Linked DNA regions of Homo sapiens: region 2 is linked to region 1. Evidence: promoter capture Hi-C in human tissues and cell types (Jung and others, 2019). All regions are on one chromosome and are shown on one strand. The core of a region is centred on a gene start or on the middle of the fragment in contact, and the rest is flanking DNA. Distances in the headings are between cores, read along the strand shown.

Evidence for each region. Contacts are between HindIII fragments. The study calls those that stand out against the background at their distance.
Region 2: a contact is called between a fragment that was not itself captured here and the fragment with the promoter of PEX5L in region 1, in 1 of the 25 tissues and cell types used here (H1 embryonic stem cells).

What each region holds. Positions count from the first base shown.
Region 1 is chr3:180,034,123-180,041,215 of GRCh38, forward strand. It overlaps PEX5L (peroxisomal biogenesis factor 5 like), which reads right to left and starts at 2,815. Exons shown (of 15, transcript NM_016559.3): 1 at 2,457-2,815. The coding sequence starts at 2,477. RefSeq lists a silencer at 2,881-2,930. The HindIII fragment of the contact is 6,291 bases long and covers 1,356-7,093 here.
Region 2 is chr3:180,336,741-180,343,833 of GRCh38, forward strand. No RefSeq gene overlaps it. Among named protein-coding and RNA genes, the nearest start is that of LINC02053, 74 kb to the right of the region's middle. The HindIII fragment of the contact is 4,621 bases long and covers 1,231-5,851 here.

The DNA.
Region 1 (7,093 bases), core at 1,565-4,064:
TGAGAACACCTGCCCCTACTTCAAACTGCTAATTTACAAAGCACTTTATTTTAAAGTCTCTTGGATACAGAAAAGAGAAGAATTAGAATGCATAGCAAAAGATTGCAAACATTTCTGTTTCACTCTTGTTTTAAGGTATCAGTCAAGTAACATTATGTTTCAAATTAACTCCAAAGCTGGCAGAAATGTTAGTAAATCTGCTTATCCCTGGTCCACTTTACCAAATATGGATTCAGATTTTAATCATACACATTTTGGAGTGTTTGGAATGTGTTTCTTCTTATCTGTGATTAGAGTCAGGTACACACAGGAAGATGATAGTATCTCTGATAAGGAAACGTTATTTTGTCCATAGGCTAAATAATATTCTTTGGGGGAAGAGATATGAGTTTAAAATGTAAGCCAACAAGTATATTATGAATCAATCTGTCATAGGTATTTTTTTGTTGGGGGGAGCAGATGCCCATTCAGATCATCATACTATTGAATAACTACTAAACGTACCTACTAAGGCCTCGGAAGTTTTATGCTTAACATTAATGGTTAATAGTAAGTAGGAAAAAAGTATTATGCTCTGAAATTTTGGTGGATGTATTGATTACAGTCTTTATTTAGTAATGTTTTAATTTAAGCTTGGCAGCAAAGATTTGTGAGTTTTACTGCAAGTCATCATATTTGCTGTTACAGCAGTGCACAAGCAAAAGACATTAAGTTGGGAGAATATGCAGAGTCTTATATTTTGTTTATTCTTTCAAAGTGAAATTAAACCCTCAGACATTGTTCCAGGCAACTCAAGTTTCAATAACATTCTCCTTTGAGATATTGAGAAAATTGAGTTAAAATTGTTTTTGGGTGCATGAATTTACCATATTGTTGCTTCGATTCTTCATTCACAGTAACATATTTTTTAAGCAACAAAACAATACTGTGCAAAGTTTTTGTTAATTTCCCCTTAGTGGTCAATTGTCAATTTTGTGTAAATGAACAATTTTTTGAGGGTTGACTCTATTAAAATCTTCCTGTTTTACCCTTGTGAAGAAACTGTTTAAAAAACAGATAATATATAAAATTGTAAGTATCATTCTTGGGTGAAGATGAAGCATAAAACTATAGTAATAATTCTTTGTTAATTTTTTCAGCAGTCATTATTTGAATTCTTCTATGTTACTTAACTTTTCAATTGGTGTAGCTTTTATAAGAAACATGCAGATCACATTGATCATATATAATATTTAAAAATATACTTCATTCACTACTTTTTGTCTATCAAATGTGATATAATCACATTAATAATTTTCAAAACAGGATGATGTTAGTCATACGGGAAATCTTTTGGAATTCTGGCACTGTATATTGAGAATTCTTATAAAAATTGAGACTATGATGAAATATTGTGTTTTATTTAAAAATGGATTATAGTCCAAAAGAATTTCCCTAAGTTATGGAAATTAAATCTGGGTAGTACTAAGTCATAAATATAACAACATATTTATCTATTTCCAATTGCTCTAAAAGACACAGAAGCAAAATCCTCAGTATTCATAAATGTTATACACCAGGATAAAGGCATCACACATAATGATTGTATTTGACCATCTTTGGAATGGAAAGGAAGCCCAAACATCAAACCTGATGACTAAACCATTTAGGTGCGATAAAGAGTCCAGTTCATACTTTAGAAAGCTGAGTTAGTATTTTATTTTTCTCCCAAAGCATATATCTGCCTTTATAAGAACCAACCAACCGTATGAATGAGAACTGGAGTCAAGGTTAAAGTAATCTTGCCCAAGAGAGTAGAGTGTGTTTGCATCGGAAAGAAGCAGCGGCTCAGCTCAGATGAATATTAATAACAACCGGAGGCAGCACCTCCCCTGAAAAACATTAGAGCTCCTTGGACATGTGTTTGAAATTCATCCTCCCAAGTCATCCTGTGACTATTGGAGTAGATGGCAATGTCCCATAATGTGAAGGGGGAAAATACACTATAAATCGTTTTTTAAATATAACACTTTAAAAAATGAAACGAAAGTGACAGAGTGTTCTAAGTCAAGCAACCTTTTCAGATGGTAAAGGAAAAGCTTTGTCTTTCCTATTATTGTTTGCCCTTCAGTTGACATACATGCTGAGATGCATCAATAGGATTACAACGGAAACACGGTCATCTCTAGGGTTTCCTCTGTTTCGATTCCTTGATCCTGTTTAAAGAAACAGGCTCAGGGAATGCACAGAAAACAAACTTCCCCAATCGAAGTTCTGAGGTCTTCCCTCCCCTTCTCCCACCTTCGGAAACCGGTCTAGTTTTCCCGGCAGCACCGGACAGAAATGTCACGGTCATGTTGCATCACTTCACTTGTTGAGCTGTGCGAAGGCAGCACTTGACCACAGAAACTTGGTGAACCGCCTTGCTCTTAAATTAGCCCCCAAGAATTCTCTCCAGCCCTATAGAAATGTCTTACCTGCATGTGTCCCTGGTACATTCTGCTTCGGTTTCTTCAGGGCTCCCTGAGGCCACCGGATGCTTTTCCCCCGTGCTTACTTGCCCACCAAAAGAGGGGAAAAGGTGGGTGCACAGCGGGTTCTCAGAGGGTGCTCCTGAGCCCCCTGGAGCTCCGGGTACTCGGCCGGCCGGCGGCCACTCGGCAGCGCTGCGGGCTGCCGGGAACTGTTCTCCGCTCGGGGTGCTGAAAGCGGACGCGGGAGAGCGCGCAGAGAAGGCGAGGAGCCGGGTCGGCCAGGCTCTCCTGCAGGCGCGGGTCCTGCTCGCGGGGCGTCTCTAGAACTCACTCCTTCTTCGCCGAACTCTTTCTCGCTTCCTGCCAGGTTGCCTCATGTCTCTCTCTCTCTGAGCTGCGAACCCCCTCCTCCCAGCCCTGACGTGAGCGCCTACACCAGCCGCCGCCGCAGCTGCCGAGCGGGGCGCGCGCCGTTCTCCCAGCCGCGTGCCTGCCGAGAGGCCGCGGGACCGGGCACGCGCGCGCGTTCCCAGGGGCCTGGGAGCGGCCCGAGGGCGGCCCCGGGCGGTGCGCGCTCCCCGAGCGCGTCCTCGGGGCTGCGCGCGCGCGGCGGCAAGGCGAGGTGCCGGCAGGCGGTGGTCGCGCTGGTGTACAACGCCCGCAGCAGCGCGGCGTTCAGGTGCGGCGTCGGCGGGCAGGGCGATTCTAGCGGAGAGGATGGCCGGCCGGAAGAAAGGCGGGAAGACATGCATCGTCTCTCCGGGGGCCATCCACCGCGGCTGAGCCTGTTATCCTACAGACATTATAGGCTGAGTGCAGGGGTTGCCGAAGAGTTTACTTCGGTTCTGATTCAGCTCTCGAAAGTTACGTCCGTATCACCCGTTAAATAAAGACTCCCCGCTCCCCTCATCCCCAGTTCATCGCCGAGCATTCTATTTAAAACGGCAAACCCTAGTCCCTGAGGATCTGGCATGTTTTATTTTTTTCCCTAGCACGTAACATCACCTAACATCCTTTATATTTTCCATATTTATTTTATGTACTGTCTGTCTCTCCCTCTGTACAATGTTATTTCCATGAGATCAGGGACTTTTTTTTAGGGGGGTGGAGTGTTGCACTTGGTTTTGCACGTGTGTGCACAGTAAGGTATTTAGTACTTCCTGACACATGGCAGGCACACAATAAATATTTGCTGAATGAATAGACCTTTACTACTATACACTTACACACACATACACACATATATGAAGAGTGCATTTAAATATGTCTCAAGTTGAGACTGGGTAGTTTGATGTGTCTACACAATAAATGTTCATATATACACACACACCACGGGGTGGTGTATACTGTGATTACCTAATTTTGTTGGTAAAAACATCTCCAATTCTACAGGCCCCTCATATTATGTACAGCATGATATCCCCAAAATATTGCATATAGCATAATATGCTTTTTATAAAGTTTAAAAAATCCCTAGAAATGTCAATGTGTATTCATATATTCATATACAACAATATAAAAAGGAAAGCAGTGGAACAATGAATATAGTGTTCAGAGTGTTGGTGACCCTGGGTGAAGGGAGGCAGGGAAATAGATGGGGAAGCATTTCACTTGAAGTTTAGATGTTAATGTCTTATCTTCTATGCCGGGTAGTGATTCATAGGACACCTAATATCCTATTAAAAATTACTGTGTAACTAAATAAAATAGAACCATGTATGGACTAATGAGGAGAATGTGAAATGAACAAAAGGATGTGAAATGAACCAATTCAATGCATCTGAGGTCCTAAAACAACCAACCAAACAAACACAAAAGGACTAAGACCTGTAAGCAGGAGACATGGATTCCTATTAGATTCCACTAGTAGTTACCCTTGGACAATTTCCTTTTACTACTTTGGACATCAGTTTTTTCATGTCTAAACTCTGTATAAAAAACTTATTTTTTTTACCCTGAAAATAGAGATATGTTCATAAGCACTGTAAACTGTAAAATGTCATCCAGTTCTTATTTTATTGTTCTTTATAGGACAAAGCACAGGACTTGGAGTCAGCAACAAGAGGTGCTAGTTCCATCTCACTACCTCAATGCTCTCTTGGGCAAGTGTACCAACTCTCTATTTCCTCAATTTTGAAATAAGACAAATATCTACCTAGTGTGCTGCACAGAGCTGCTGAGGACTGAATGTATGCAAAGGAAGTTGTAAATTACCAACCATGATATATGAATATGCAAACAGACTTTTTTTTCCCAGTTCAGAAAAGATGAGGACTGATTTTCTGAGACCTCAAGTACTGCAGATTTTAAAATGGTACTAATTATCATATAATACTATCATGTTATATAAAAACTGGGAAAAGTATAGTGCTTTGATTTAAAAGTACTAGAAATCTGTGAAGTAACAATAGGGTCAAAGTTTTCCAATCCATTATATGCTTGTTATTATCTAACGGCAGGTTCAAGGAGCCAACAACCATAAAAGCATTTGGATCAGAATGGCAACTGCCTAGTGTTGAAGCTAGAACTCAATATATTCTCTTCTTAAACCTGAGTCACTGATTTCGTTACTGCCTACATTCTCAAAATCTCAGGAGTGAAAGCTTTCCTTTGTGAAGAATTCCTCTTCACACTTATTCCTTCTGTTAGAAGATAAACTAAGGCACATTAAAATTTTAAAGGGTTTTTTGAGCAAATAGCCATTCATGCATCAGGCAGCAGCAGACCGAAAGCAGTTGGGGACTCTGTCGGAAGTCGTTAAAGGGAAAGATTTTATAGGGTAAATGTGGAAGCAGAGCAAAGAAATTATTTGGTTAAAGAGGAATACTGGATTTATTTGGATCATTCTAATGGAAAGTCCATAGTTAGAGGTTAGTTTGTGGTTTCTGATTGGTTAAGCTTAACTTTCACTTTCCTAGACTATTTCTTAGACTAGGAATGAGATTTGAATTATCTTTATTTTCCTCAGAAACAATGCATGTCTAATAAGCTAGGTCCAGAAAAATATTTTACAAAAGATTTATTTTGTAATTAAATTTGAAGACCCTTGTTACTCAAAACGTGGTGTGTGGACCAGCAACATCAGCATGTCCTGGGAGCTTGTAAGAAATGCAGACTCTTGGGTGCCATTTCTGACCTACTGAATTAGAATATGCGTTTCAACAAGATCCCCAGGTGCTTGTATGCACCATAAAATTTGACCAGCACTGTGGCCTAGAAGGTTTATTTATTCATGTAAATATGTGGCAAAGCTAGCTCTTGCCTTTTGCAGTGATAACACATGAGCAACCTCAGTACCACTAGAGAAGAAGAATGCATATTGCACTCCATTTATAAAATAATCTCACTGTATTTTGAGTGGTCAGTGGACTTGGCATAAAATCATAGCACATTCAGCTTTCTTACAGCAAGAAATGTGCTTAGTACCACTGCAATTTTAATCACTGTAATACAATTAAATAATTGAGAGGTAGCAGTAGAATCTATTTTGTATTGACAAAATTTAATTTTGCTTATTAGTAAGCGAATCCTCCTGCATTTCAAATGGGTATTGAAAATTCAGGATTTATTAAATCTTTGAAAAAACTTAGTAAAAATGATGAGGTTAGTGTTCTTGTGGACTTAAAAATCAGAGATAAGAGTCTTTTGATGATTCAATCATTCTTTCATAATCTGTAGAATTCAAACTCTGGTGCTGAAAGATGGTGCAGGAGAGAACAAAAGTCAAAATAATTGTAGACCAAAATTAAAATGACTAATTGGTATTTGTTGTTCAATCAGAAGGAGGAACATTTTGTTAAAGTTTGCCCACTTACCCTTTTTGTCTCTTCGACACATAGAATGAGATTAGCTGGTGTTTCAGGGCATTTGATCTGGAAAAAATTTGGGAACCCCAGGCTGCCAGGAAGAATTATGAATAATAAGAGTATGTGGACTCTGATGACGAGGAGATGGCAGCAATGTTCTTCCAAATGAACAAACAAGCTGGATGCTTCAGAGCTGGGCCTCCTATTAAACCAATTTAAGAAATTACACTATATTTGTTTACTCTTTAGGACAATGTTTTTTCAGTGATCCAATATTGCTTTTAATATTAAGTGTACTTTCTAGAGTTTCTTATTCCTGGTGAGAAAACATTTGTGAACAAAAATATTTCTTGCTTTTGACTACTCCTTTCTACTGTTGCCACTGCCATCCTAGCCCAGATTCCCTAAACCTCTTATCACTTAAAGCTAGTTTTATCACCTCCGTTCATCTCCTACATCAACCTGTCATATACATCGCAGCCAGATTAATTTTATAAAGGTCAGCATTAATCACAATGCTGCTCAGGTCAGAAATCTTTAGTGGCTTTCCATTGCCCACTAATGTCCCAAAACTTCAGCTTTTTATTCACAGTCATGGAATATCGTTTGCTGCCCAGAGCAACATCCTCTTCTAGTGGCAGGAAGCCTCTTTTCTCAAGGCTCTTTGCTTTGAATAACCATCTCTTCCTCACTCTGGTCCACTTGTGTGGTAGGAAACATTTTACTACCAGGCTTTGGGGTTGCAACATAGCACCCAGGCTGAGCCAACCAGTGCATTCCGTCCCCATTGGTCACAGTTGGAGATGGGCATATTACCCACGTCAGTCAATCAGG
Region 2 (7,093 bases), core at 2,291-4,790, 300 kb after region 1:
ATACGATTTTTTCTTGTATTTACTAACAATGCATTTTATTTTGCCTAGCAAGCCTTGATATGCTTCTCTTCTTCAATGCAATACATTTATTTCTGATCAATTCTGCCATTCAATAGTAGTCAAATAATTTCAAAATCATATTTTAAATGTTATTTTAATCTTGCCAATAGAATTATATTTAATGGCATCTGAGTATATGTTGTTATTTTGATATTACTCAGGTGTGGGCCTCTAAAGCAAGAGTGCCTAGGACCTATGAAGGTCTTTAAATAGCCTCAAAGCTAAGGAATGAGCTAGAGAGTTTATACACTCATTTAGCAATTAGTTGACAGATTATTATATGCCAGAAATTCTATTAGGTGTTACTGGGCATATAAATGACTATAAAACACTATTTATATCCCTTAGGAGTTAACAATATAATTAGGGAGGGTGGAACTGACTAATTGTTCACTGATCTTTGCTCTCTATTTTTTTTTTTAATATTCTGCTAAGCTACTATCAGAGTTCCCCTACAATTAGGTGAGCCATAGGACTGAGTGTGGCCAATTGGAGTATGAGCGGAATGCATATCACCTCCATATGTGGCCACCAAAAGCTTACATGAGTGTCCTCACTTTCTTTTATTTTATCTTAAACTGTTGACCGGATGTGGAGGATCCATTGCAGGCTTTTGAAGTCCTAGGGAATAGTGATTACAGTAAATGAAGCCTGGACCACTGAAGTAACTGCATGGGACAGAGTTCTCCTCAACCCCCATGCCTATATAATGTAAGATGAGCAAGAATTAAACTTTGGTTGTTTGTACCATTTAGATTTTGAAATAGTTTGTTACATCAGTTAGCATACCCTGAATAATACTGAGAGACTAAACTCAATCACCCATGACTTCAGCTTTTAAAAACTGCTAAAATAATACATAAATTTTGAAGTGGTAGGAATAATTTCTGTTTGTTAGGTTATGTGAGGGATCTTCTCTCTAATGATGAACAGCACCTGAGGCAATTGTTGATGGAATGTCACAGACCCCACCAAACACAAATCTTCCTCTTATTATTTCTCCCTTGTCCTTGTCTTTGATGTGCACATTCCCATTACATTTTTCTTTCCTTTTAGCCTTAGTTTTCCAACTGTCTGAAAATCAGCTCCATATACTACCTATTTTTGTCTACCCCCTTAGGTTTGAATTTTCAAAATTTACATTCATCTCTTTATGCATAAGATATCATTCTGTTAATTACATATTATTCCCATCTATTCTCCACTATTAAAACAAGTCCTTTAGGGCTTATAAATTTTTGTTACCATGTATTGTTATTTTTAAGTATTTCCAAGGCAGACATTTATTAAACATTGACTTTCTACCAAGTAGCAATCTAAGGGAGTGATAGATTGTAGAAATTTAACAGTTAAGGACATGAGTTCCTAGATAACATTTATTTGGAATTTAAACCCCTGCTTTTCACTTACTACATGATCTTGGATAAATTATTTGAGCCTCAATTTTCCTATTCTAAAGTGGAAATAATGACACCTGCTTCATAGAGTTGGTATATGTATATGGCTTAAATGAGATAATACACATGAAACAACAACTTTATAGTGGGGACTTAATGGATGGCAGTTACCAATATTATTATTACCATGGTTGTAATTAGTATTCATATATCTGAATTTTTAAAAATTCTGCCCACAAGGGGCTCAGCATCTAGTAATGGCCCTTTAATTGGCCATAATCAATGAAACATCATTACTTTTATTTCTTGACTACATAGACCTTCTCCTTTAGAAGTTCTCTGTAATCTGAGAGCAAATTAATCAAGTTGAAAGAATTTGTCTGTATTTAGTTCAATTTATTTAAGCTTGTAATTTTACAATATTTTTTGTAGCTCTATTGTATAATTTTTCTTTTTTGGTGACATTGTGATTTCAAGTGAGGAATTGCAGTCAAATGACATTTTTATCATTGTCTTTTATAGGTAATAAACATGATAGGCATAAACAGATTAACACTGTACTGTGCTTAAGAATGCTTAACTGAAAATATATCAATCACTTAGTGTATTCTGGCCAGAAATTTGGAAAAATGTATCTACTGATTCTGAATACTAATTAAAGGCTTAAATTACAATGATAATTCTTAGATGGTCTCCCTGCCCTCTTCCAATCCATCCTTCTACTACCTTCTCAGTGATCGTTAAAAATGCAAATCTGGTCATATGACTCCCTGATAACCTTTCCCTCCTCATTATTATAAATTACCCCATGACTTCATATATCATATAAGGTCCCTCATTAGGTAATCTCACTCACCTTTCCAGTTTCATTTATGCAGCTCCTCCATATTCAGCCTCAGCCTAAACTAGATGGAACTATTTTCAGTTCCCAGAATATACAATACTTTTGTTCAAACTGTTTCCCCTGGCTAGAGGCCTTTTCCACTTGTTTCCCAAACACCTACATGATTGGGGGACTCAAACCTCTTCTTTTGGAATTCCTTCTGCATACTTCCACTGCTTTCACCAAATAGAATTGAGCTCTGATTCATTTGTGCCCAAATGTTACCAGTAAGACTTTATGGTACACCCTTGTGTTTATATCTGTCTTGCCTATTGGCTCTATGAAGGCAAAGTAGGGATTACTTCAGTGAATAAGCCCTGTAGATCCTGTCCAGATGATCATCTCATAAATCTAAACCACATCTCTAGCTTGCCATGCTTAATATGGAACAGCAAGGGGAAGAGACGTGGTGATTAATGAAGTGGTCTTGGAATTAGTTTGAAATCAGTCATTTATTGAGTGACCTTTGCCAAATTATTTAAACTTTCCATACTTTATCTTCTCATATATTAAATAGAGATGATAATAATAATAAATGTCTCATGGGATTCTAGGTAGGATTAAATGAGTTTAATGCTTACCATTCAGTAAATATTATAATTATATTATTGTTATCCTATATAAACTTATACAGTTTTTTTTAGAAAGGTAAGATAATGTGCATCTTGTTTAAAAAAATGACACATAAATCCATTTTGGAAAGTAAATTTTTTTCTCATTTTAAATGTAGCAGAGGAATACTTAGAAATCTAACTGATCATCTTTTTTAATGAGAGGAGTTAGATTTATTTATATGGGCTTAAAGTAAGGCATATCTATACTCGTCATTAGTTTCATGTAAATTTAGATTATGAAGCATATTCATATACCAAATGCTGTACTTCCAGTCTACTAAATTGGTCATTTCAAGACATATTCCTTTTTTTTCTCTCTCTCGCTCTCTCTCTCTTCTGACTATCTCTACGTTCCTGCCATATGGAACTGCTGTAATTCCCTAAATGTGGCCTACCAATCACCCACCTAAGCTTCCACAAAGCTTCCCTCTGCCTAAATTATCTCTCCCCCATAGCTAACACTCCAACTCCAAATTCAGCTCAGTGGTTATTTCAGCTAAGATATTTTTCCACCATCTCCATCATTCTGATTTTTTCTCCCTTCCCTGTGTTACCAAAGCACCACACGTATACTCCCAACATGGAATTTATTATTGTTTTGAAATTATCTGTTTATTTTCTGTCTCTCTAACTAGACCACCTATTCCTGGGTGCAGGAATCTTCATATTTCTGGTCCTAGGACATTGATGTTTGATACAGGTGTTAAATAATATAATTAGAATAAATTGATATAATCAAGGATAAATAAATGAATACAGCTTTAAAAAGGCTATCCATAGTCAAATATCCACCAATAGTAGCATGGATAAGTAAATCATGGTATTTTCACATATGGCATACTCTATAGCAGTGGTTCTCAAGATGTAGTCCCCAGGCCAGTAGCATCAGTATCACTCACGGACTTGTTAGAAAGGCAAATGCTTGGGCTTCGCCCCAGTTCTACTGAAACTGAAACTCTGGGGGTAAAGCTCAGAAATCTGGTTTATCAAGCCCTCCAGATGCTTCTGAAGCACACTAAAGCCTAAAAATCAGTGGTCTACAATAGAGAGAGTTAATAATCTATAAATACACATAATAATATAGAATAATCTATAAATACCCACAATAATATAGACAAATTTCACAAATTCATGAAATTTGTGAATTGTTGAGTGAAAGAAGCCAGATACAGGAAAAGTATATACTATATATATAAATACATTTATATATAGTCTAAAAACAGGCAAAATTAATCATTGTTGTTAGAATGCACTGTGTTACCTTTTGTCAATCTGGCTACATAATTTGCAAGGCCCAATAGAAAATGAAAACGTAGAAACCCTTGTTAATGTTTTTAAAAATCTAGTTCTTCAAATGCTTTCCATATATCTTAGGTTCTAGAATGTTTAATCTCACAATTGTCTCCTTAAGATATATTGACTGTATCTTTAGCATCAGAAATTTTTTGAGATGCATGGGAAGAATCTGGTATCAGAACAAAACCTGATCCTTGAATAAGAAAGAATTTGGTAGAAACTAACAGGAGCTTAATATAAATGATAAGTCTTGTTTTATTTGAAACAACAGACCACAATTTATTCAGAAACACATGAAGTACTTGAAGCCCCCTTGATTTTCTGCTATTATCATACAGCATAATATATTTTTTATTCAAAGTTTAATAGATATGGCCTTGTCATTGTGCCAGTCATCTAGGACAAACAGAAACTTCAAGAATCGAAATCCTGTATAAGAAAGGTAGTAAGAAATACAGTCACTTTTCTAGTAGAAAATGTGTTAGGCATCAGTAATTTCCAGAGAATAGGTTTTGTAAGGGAGAAGAAGGGAGAGCACATCAGCCTGGGCATCTTTCGAGGGTAAAAGAAGATGGCCAAAGGAGAAAAAAAGGACACAGAACAACTTCTTCTATTTTATACTCTTGCACAAGGCCCTTCTGTATTTAAGTGTACTAGTATGCCCTAGACTCAAAGGGCAACTTATTTTGGAAGTCATAAACATTGATAGCTGTTTGCATCTGAGAGAAGCCTGTCACGGCAATTTGAGGAGTGACGTCTTTGCTGAGATTGGTGCTCTCTCAGAGGAATAAAAAGATGTCATAGTTGTAACAATTAAGACACTAGTCTCTTTTTGAACAGACAGCTCCTGGTTGGCTCCTGGGGTAAGCAGAAGAAACATTCATATTCAATTTTTAGGATTCTTGATATGTAAAACATATTGATTATAGGAGGTGTCTATTCTTTTGTATTGCACTTAAGGCTCTTATTGTTTAAGAGCTCTTACAAAAAAGGGCATGTGACTGAACAAGTAATGCCTATGCTTTTCAATCTAAATTGAAAATATAATTAAAATATGCCCATTAAGTCATGTATTTTAGAAAACGTTGCTTCTATCATCCTATGAGCTGGATCAGCTTCTTCTACTTCATAATTTTGCACCAGGTCCTTCCAGATTCAAGTGCACTAATATGCCTCGGGCTCAAACATGGCTCAAACACATGCCCAGCAACATAGTTCAATAACATCTTTCTTAATCATTGTCATCATCATTATCTAGCCAGCAAGTGGTGCATTTTGCAAATACAATTGTTCCCTTAAGGAGGTGCACATCTGCATAAACAAGATAAAGACACAGAAAATCTCAAATACTTCAAACGCTGAATAACCAAATTAATTTATATTAATAATTATGAAAACGAAATGTCACAATTCCTGCCCTTCTCCATCTGTGGGGTAAGATATTTGAATTCTAACAACTGCATGTAATTCTGTGAAAAAGAAGTCATCAGTAAAATAAAATGCAGCATATCTCAATTTTTATGGTAAAGAATATTTCTCACTATTAGAAAAAAAAACAAAACTCCTTGAAACACTAATTTGGACAGTTTTTGCAGCATCAGATTTATGTTAATTAATTCAAAAAATCTCCAAGGCCCTTTCTGCACCAGTGAAAAACTTATAACTATTTGTACTTTAGTGTTTCATTTATTAAAATCATGTATCTGACAGACAAAACTTTGAAAACCAACTTTTCCTTTTATTTTTTAAATTGACATAATAATTACACATATTTATGGGATACACAGTGGTGTTGCAATACATATAAAGTATAGTGATCAGATCAGGATAATTAGCATATCTATCATCATTTATTATTTCTTGGTGTTGGGAACATTCAATATCCTCCTTCTACCTATATAAAACTATGTATTGTTAACTGTAGTCATCCTACAGTGGAAGAACACCAGAATTTATTTCTTCTATTTGACTGTAATTTTGTATCCTTTAATCTCTCCCTATCCCTGCCTTCTCACCACCCTTCCCAGCCTCTAGTATCCTCTGGTCTACTTTTTATTTCTATGAGATCAACTTTTTTTTAGCTTCTACATATGAGTGAGAACATGTGATGTTTAATTCTCTGTTCCTTGTGAATTACACTTAACATAACGTCCTCCAGTTCCATCCATGTTACCATGAATGACAGAATTTCATTCTTTTCAAAAGTTGAGGCCGGTCGCGGTGGCTCACGCCTGTAGTCCCAGCACTTTGGGAGGCCAAGGAGGGCAGATCATGAGGTCAAGAGATTGAGACCATCCTGGCCAACATGGTAAAATATATTATATATATATGAAATTGAAGAGGATAAACAATGGAAACGCACACAACACACATGTACAAACACACACACATATATCACATTTTCTTTATCCATTCATCTGTTGTTGGACACCTAGGCTGATTTCATAACTTGGCTACTGTCAATAGTGCTACAATAAATGCAGAAGTGCAGATGTCTCTTTGATATACTGATTCCTTTTCTTTGGATAAATGCCAAGTAGTGGGATTTCAGGATCATACGGTAGTTCTGTTTGTAGTTTTTTGTGGACCCTCCATACTGTTCTCCATAGTGGATATACTAGTTTACATTCCTACCAACAGTGTGTAAGAGTTCTATTTTCTCCATATCCTCACCAGCATTTGTTGTTGTTGTTGTTGTTGTTGTTTTATTATAGCCACCCTAACTGGGGTGAGATGATACTTCACCGTGGTTTTGTTTTGTATTTCTCTGGTGATTAGTCATGTTCAGTATGTTTTTGATATATTTGTTGGCCATTGTATGCCTTTTGAGAAATGTCTGTTTT